2 separate regions of the Homo sapiens genome follow, and region 1 is linked to region 2. Evidence: promoter capture Hi-C in human tissues and cell types (Jung and others, 2019). All regions are on one chromosome and are shown on one strand. The core of a region is centred on a gene start or on the middle of the fragment in contact, and the rest is flanking DNA. Distances in the headings are between cores, read along the strand shown.

Region 1 (3,690 bases), core at 1,074-3,573, 100 kb before region 2:
GGAAGATAAAGTTTTAAATATGATCAAAAGACAAACAACAAATCCAGCCAGGCATTGGAAAGAATTGCTATGAGAATGAAAATGTTATTTTTACACTAGGGCTTCACATTGTATTAATATTTTAATAGTATTGAAATGAAATAAAATAATCTCTGTTAGACAAAGGTGACCCAAGAAACAGGTGAAAAAATTTAAAATTTGTATGTATGGACAATTAGTCCATGTTAGTTTCAGTATTCTAAAGGGAAGAAAACTCTTTTCTTAAAAATTATTTTCTGGGTGTGGCACAGTGGCTCACACCTGTAATCCCAGCACTTTGGTGGATCGCTTCAGCCTAGGAGTTTGAAACCAGTCTAGGCAACAGGGTGAAACCTTGTGTCTACAAACAAACAAAAAAATATAAAAATTAGCCAGGCATGATGGCACGCGCCTGTAGTCCCAGCTAGTTGGGAGGCTGAGGTGGGAGGATCACCTGAGCCAGGGAGGCAGAGGTTGCAGTGAGCCTAGATCTCACCATTGCATTCCAGCTTGGGTGACAGAGCGAGACTCTGTCTCAAAAAAATTATTTTCTGCAATGTTAAAGGTACTTATTCAGACATTGTGAGGTGATAAAGTATAAAGTATAAAAGTCAGATGCTAGAGTTAGAAAAATTTGAGTTTTAATCCCACACCAGCTGCATATATATTGGGTATATTACTTAATTTTTGTAACCTTCACTTTTCTCAACTGAAAAATGGAGATAGTTAACTGTAAGTAGTTAATTAAATAAAGGAGATAATGTAAGTGACAACCTTAGCAAACACTGTATATTGCTGATGGTAAGCAATCAATAATTGTTATTATTAAACTTATATTTCTTTTATTTTTTTATTTTTTCATACAGTAGTAAGCTCAATAAAATTGAGTATATAATTTACTTCATACATCTATGTCCCTTGCAGCATTAACTCGTAACTGATGGAAGTAGAGCCAGAAAGGAGGCTTCAGGAAAAATACAAAATTTTCATCTCCACTTCTACATTGATCTGAATGAGTATGTATTCATTTTTAATAACCACTAGAAAAAGATAAAATATGTACTCATATCTTTCCTAAGGAATATTATAGTATATTGCATAATCAGCTTTTGGCCTAATATTATATTTAAGTTATTTAGGGTACTGGGGGTAAGGAGGAGGGAACAAAATGCCTATGATTTCCTTAATTGAATACCTTAGTTTTAAAAATATCTATACATCCTGAGTGCACATATATTGAAGGCAAAATACTCTACGTTTACTCCATAAGTGCCTTGAAGAACATAATAGTAATATCCAAAGCTTAAAATTTCAAAGGTAATTTCACCACAATATAGAGATATTTCTAAATACCATGTACAGATGGTGTCAGACTTACGATGGTTTGACTTACAATTTTCCACTTCACCATGGTACAAAGCGATAGGCATTCAATAGGCTCCTTGATTTAAGATGAGGTATGTCCAGATAAACCCACCCTAAATTGAAAATATTTTAAGGCAAAAATGCACTTTCAATATAGTATATTTTCAATGTAGGATGGGTTTATTGGACTGTCACCTCATCATAATTGAGGAACACCTGTAATTTGTAATTAAGCACTGACACCATGTAATATAAGTAATTATATACATCTTCTCTAGATTCGTATAATAACCATTTTTTTCTCTGCATTTATATGACTTAGCATATAAGGGGAAATGCTTACAAAATGCAGAGCACTTTAATCCATAAATTATTTGGGAAAAGGCTTGGTAAGAAATCAGAAAACTTTTTAAGTGAAGGTTTACCATGCATTGTTTACTGCAGGTAATCTCTCTCAGCATGAATTCATGGCAGTGGTTTACCTGTGTTTCTATTTACAGTGCTGTGTCCTTTAAAAGATTTTTAAGCCTCAGAATGAGTTTGTAAGTTGTATCATTAAATTTGTAAATTTCTTTTCTCAAACCAGATTATATATTCCCAAAGCATAAAGTTTCTTTTCACCTAACTTTAAATGAACATCAGTACCTGATACTCATGGCTGCTTGATTGGATTAAACTGAATTGCATGAAAGACTCCTAGAGTCTGATTTTAGCAGTCTTAGAGATTCTTATTCTAACTGTACTATTAATAAACTATGGGACACTGAACCAACTGCAAATGCCCTAAATCTGTGATTTTTCAGCTGTAAAGTAAGGATTATAACATGCTCTGCCTTGCTGACTTCAAAGTTCTATTTAGTGCAGTAATATAAGTGAAAGCATGTTGGTTGCCATAAATGCTTTGCTTCCTTTCTAGTCACGTATTCTCCACCTCAGGAGCTTTCATTACCAGCAGATACTAAATTATAGAGCTCAGATTTAAAATGCCAAACTTTGGTGGCAAAATAAATAGTCCCTTTCTCCCTACTTTTTTTCATTAAAAACAAAATAAATTTATTCCTACCAGTACTAAGTCATATCCATTTCTATAGGACCAGTTATCTAGTAAAATTTGGTAGAAAAAAGGTTACCAAGGACAGGAGAATGGCTATGTCCACTTGTGTTTTGAGTATAATTTATAGATCTGGATAATTTTGTTAATTTTATTAATCTTTAAATTGCATCGTGCTTTATCAGACCTGATCCCTTGCATGTAAACTGAATATTTACACCTTACCCTGAATTGGATTTACATCTCAATTTAGCTGTGTGTGTGTGTGTGTGTGTGTGTGTGTGTGTTTAACATAAGAAACCTCATAAGCCAACTACAATTTTTATTGATGTTTTTATCATGCTGTTTCCGGCAAGGAGTTCTTAATTATTTTTATTATAATACCTAACATGTATTTGACACTTCTACTAAACTCTCCACAATTATCCAGTGTGAGTGTACTGTTTCCTGATGGACCATGGCCAAGAGTATTAAGGAAGTAGCTTAAAGGCGAGATAAGCTAATGATTGCAAAGGATTTCCATTTCTTAAAGGAGTATGCTTTTATTCTGTCTGCAATAATAGGGCCACTAAAAGTTTTTAAACAGAATAATCCCATTTTCAAATTTTCATGCTTATCCTAATAGTAATACCCCTGAGCGTTGTGGCAGCTCACTACATCAAAAGATTCTGCAATTTCAGAACTGAGCTTAATCGGGTCCAGTGGTTTAATACAATAAAAAATGAAGAAACAACTAGCTTGCTTACAGGAGTTTATGGACTGCTGTCAACTTATATTTAATCCAGATGAGGCAAGATATATGGAAGAAAGCTTATCAATATTAATCTCCCTTCAAAAATACTTTAGACTCCTCACACAAGCATTCATGAACCTCTATTATTAGATTACTTTGACATAGCAGCCATTTCCATCCTTTCTTTGTCCTACTATCTCAAAAGTACTATCTGACATTCCTTTGGTATTTTTACCTTCATCAGATTTGCGATCGTGTCCTTGTTTCTGAGGAAAAGTCTCAAGAAGCTCTCAATTATCTCTTTTTATGCAATTTTTCTTCCTCTCTTTTATCAAAGGGGATCCTAAACTCAAGGTCATAAAGTTAGAAAGAGGAAAAGCAGAGGCTTAAAAATTGGTTACCTGTCTACTCCTTTCTTGCCAAAGGCATTGGTCCTACCATAATTTTTCCTGCCCTTTAGGACTTGCATCTCTCCTGCTTCTTATTTAGTGTTTTCAGATTTCTTTCTTTTTTTTAACTTTAA
Region 2 (3,681 bases), core at 1,125-3,624:
TTAAATCTGGTTGACTATTCAGGAGACAAGCATATCTCATCTTAATAATTCATTGGGCATCAAAAACAGTAGAGTCAGATTTATATTAGTATGGGGGATGTTTTTTCTTTGAATAAAAAATATTTCCCTGTTCTTTTTTTTTTTTTTTTTTTTTGCTCTGTGCTTCTTTTGTTCCCAAATTTCTCCAGATGTATCTACACAGTGTTTCTCAGAGTGGGATCCCTGACCTAGCAATATTAGTACCACCTGGGAACTTAATAGGCACGTAATGAATCAGATGTAATGAATCAGAAACTCGAAGGATAGGGCCCAGCAATCTGTGTTGTAACAAGCCCTTCTGGAGTGTCTCTTGTATGCTAAATTTAAGGGCCTAAACTAGAGAAACTGGTGCAGGTGGTAACTCTTCTCATGTGAATCGGCTCACCTAATGCCTCATGCAAAATTGCTACTTTAAACAGTCTTTCTCAGTTTTAATATATTATTTACACTCTTTGCAGTGAAGTTAGCAGTGATAATGTCAAGTTTTTCAGCTGAAATTTACTATGAAGACTGTATCTTCTTAACAAAATATCCTTTAACTCGTGATATTTTTTTCTGCCTCCCATTATCAAAGTTTTTCTTTCTGCGATACCTACCATGGGTTAGCCTTTAACTATGCTGTGTCAACTGTATGTGGGGATTATACTTACAATTAAAACTTGTATTTGACATACGAATGGGACTCAAGGAAATCAAAACTCTTCTTGGAAACAGTAGGAACATCTGAGCCAGTAATTAACAAACGTTGATTGCCAAGGAAATTCAAACCAAGGTTTAATAAGGAAGGAATTCTTGTAAAAATAGACATAATAGCTATATGTAAAAATAAGAATATCTCTCATGTATAAGGAATTTTTATGTTTTGTGTAGAATTCTAGAGAGTGAAAGTTATGAGTACTGATATATGATTAGTATGTTGAAGCTATTACAATATGAAGTTTGTCTGAAAATAGACTAGGCTATCCTGTGAGGTGAAGAGTTTCCTGTAGTTAGGGGTATTTAAGCCACATCAAATTGTGGGTCGATTGGGTGGTCTAGACCCTTCCTCCTCAAGTGTAGTACCATCTGGGAGTCATTAGAAGGGTAGAATTTCAGGTTTCACCCCATTCCTGGTGAATCAGTATCTACAACTTAACAAGATCCATGGATGATCTGTATGCACATTATGTCTGAGAAATAGTGCTCCAGTTGACATCTAATGAATTTTCGTATTATTTTTATACTTCTTATAGGATTGTGTTGTGTTGTAAAATTTAAATAACAGTCTAGAATAGAAGTTGGGTAAATACATGAGCTTTACCCCACTTTCCATTGTAAAGTCGCTAACTGAATTAAATACTTCCCTCAGAAACAAAGATTGTTTCTTGGATATTGTAGTTAATTTTAAGTGAACAGTTATTTACATACTAGTTCTTTGTTAACTTTGGACTCTTGGCGTTACACAAAAGTAAAACACGTCTTTTGGCTTTCGTGTAGCACACTCAGAATATTTTCAGTAACCCCCAAAATATATTCAGTGTTTAATCCTCCAATTCCTTCATGCATGTCCTCTTCATTTTCACCAAACCCAGCAGGATTCGTGACTCTCCCTCACAGAAACGTTCCCTTTCTGCTCAGAGTAGGTACTGATTTTGTCTCCTGCTTCCTCAGTCTGTATGAATGGACAGCAGCAACGGAAAGAAAAGAGGGTAGGTAAAGGGAGGTGGAGATATAAGGGGGACTGGAGCGCGATGGAGAGACCAGACTCTGCTCAAAGCTAAAATTTACTCGGGCAGGGAATACTTAACATACAATTCCCATTACCAAAACAATATGAATGAAGAAGAACTGAAGAGGTAATGAGAAATGACAGATGCCGCCACACCCTAGATTGGCTCAGGTCCCTACAACCATGACTACCATGCCCTGGCCCAGTGGGAAGAAAGCTGCTTAAAGAAATGACAAGCACAGAAGACCGGGGAGCCAAAAGGTGCCCAAGTCCGTTCCCATCCCCACCAGCGCAGGCTGACACAAGCGAAGGCTGTAGAGCCCATTGTGTGAAAGAAGCCCAGGCGGGGAAGCGTGTGCCCCCTTCCCACTTTGCCCATCCCTGGCCCTCGCCTTCGCAGGGGGCACTGGGAGCAGAGCGAGCCTCGGCAGCCCGGGAGCGGCTCTGGGGGAGACGAGTGTATCCGCGGGCGCGTGTGCGTGAGGAGGAGAGCAAAGACGTGATTACTTCAGAATTTATTTAAGGGCCGGTGGAAACCACTGCAGCAGCTTCCAGGGGAAGCCCTTGTTCCAGAGGAAGAGGAGGTGGTGGCTGCCAAGGAGGAGGAGGGGAGGAGACGGAGGAGGAGGAGTAGCAGCCACCGCACGAGGCAAGTGAGGAGAGAAGATGCTGTAGCGTCCTCACCGGCTGCCAGCAGGTTGGTTCTTCCGGCCAATTGAAGCAAGCAAAGAGGCTTGCAGAAAGGCCGGGAGGAGAAAAATGGGTGTGTGTGCTGTGGCGGCGGGGGGGCGGCGGGGGGGAGGGAAGGGGGGCCGGGGGACGGCGTGGGGTGATGTTTGCCTTTCCAGAGAAAAAGCGCCTCCTTTAAGTGAAACGAGACACGGGAGCGCGCGGAAACAGGCTGGGGGCCAGGAGGAGACCTGTCCTGCTTTTTGCATCCCTAGGGACTCGTTTTCCTTTAGGTTTCTAACTCCCAGGGTTAGCCTTAAACTCCAGAGGGGCTCCAGGAGGGGAGACTGGGTGGAGAACTTCTCTCCCAGATACTTCTCACGCCTTTTCTCCAAGCTTTCTTTTGGAGGGACGCCCCACACACCCCGGGTGGCCCGGGCGCGGAGGGGGAGCGGCGCCGCGTGGTTAAGTTTCTGAAAGTCAAACCCAGTCCCCGGTCTCCGGTCTCCGCCCCGGGGCTCCAGCTGCACGCGGGGAGCTGCGGCTGTTCTGGCAAAGGGGCCGCGGCTGCTTTAAGAGCCGCCTCCCCCTCTCCTCCTTTGACAATGGTCTGAACCGAGCTTTGCTTCCCAAAGCAAAATTTGTAATATGCCATTTTTCCGATGGACGCTTCTCCTTTTGGCTGCTGACGGAGCCACGGGAAGATGCCGAGCTCCTGCCACGCCACCGGGCCGGGGCACGTTCCGGGAGGGCGCCGGGGCACGCGTGTGTCTGAGCTGCCTTTCTCCTCCCGTTGCTAGGGAAATGGTCCAGGAGTGCTGGGTGTGAGCCTCCCTTCTCCTCAAGCCGGAGACTGCGGTTGTCATTGATCAATTGAAGAAGCAAGGACCCGAAATCACAGACATTAGGTACAGAAGCTGTCTTTGAGTTTTACTGTCTCCTTTCGCTGTATTTTTTGACCACCTCCCCGGCCCCACCCCGCCCCCAGGGAAGATGAGATGCAAATTCCTCCTTGTTGATTACCGTTAGGTGCCTTTTGCTTTCACCTCATCCTCTCCATCTCCTATCTCTCTACCTCCTGCCTACTTGGCTGTGTCCTGTTGGGCAGGATGAACAATTTTAGTGTGGAAATGATGAAGTCAACTTCTTCAAGGTGGTGGGGGGTGTGGCTGAGAGATAACTGTCCAGTAGTGTGGGTTGAGCTGGCTCTGGCTGTCCGTAAATGCACTAGGGTAAAGAAAGTGTAAAATGTGTCCATTAAAGGT

What was found. The method cuts DNA at HindIII sites, captures the fragments that hold promoters and counts their contacts. A contact is called where the count stands out against the background at its distance.
Region 1: a fragment that was not itself captured here is called in contact with the fragment with the promoter of PPFIA2 in region 2 in 2 of the 25 tissues and cell types used here (H1 embryonic stem cells and aorta).

What each region holds. Positions count from the first base shown.
Region 1 is chr12:81,858,919-81,862,608 of GRCh38, reverse strand. No RefSeq gene overlaps it. Among named protein-coding and RNA genes, the nearest start is that of LINC02426, 93 kb to the left of the region's middle. The HindIII fragment of the contact is 3,559 bases long and covers 544-3,690 here.
Region 2 is chr12:81,758,043-81,761,723 of GRCh38, reverse strand. It overlaps PPFIA2 (PPFI scaffold protein A2), which reads left to right and starts at 2,374. Exons shown (of 33, transcript NM_003625.5): 1 at 2,374-2,444; 2 at 3,217-3,324. RefSeq lists an enhancer at 2,576-3,514. The HindIII fragment of the contact is 8,978 bases long and covers 1-3,381 here.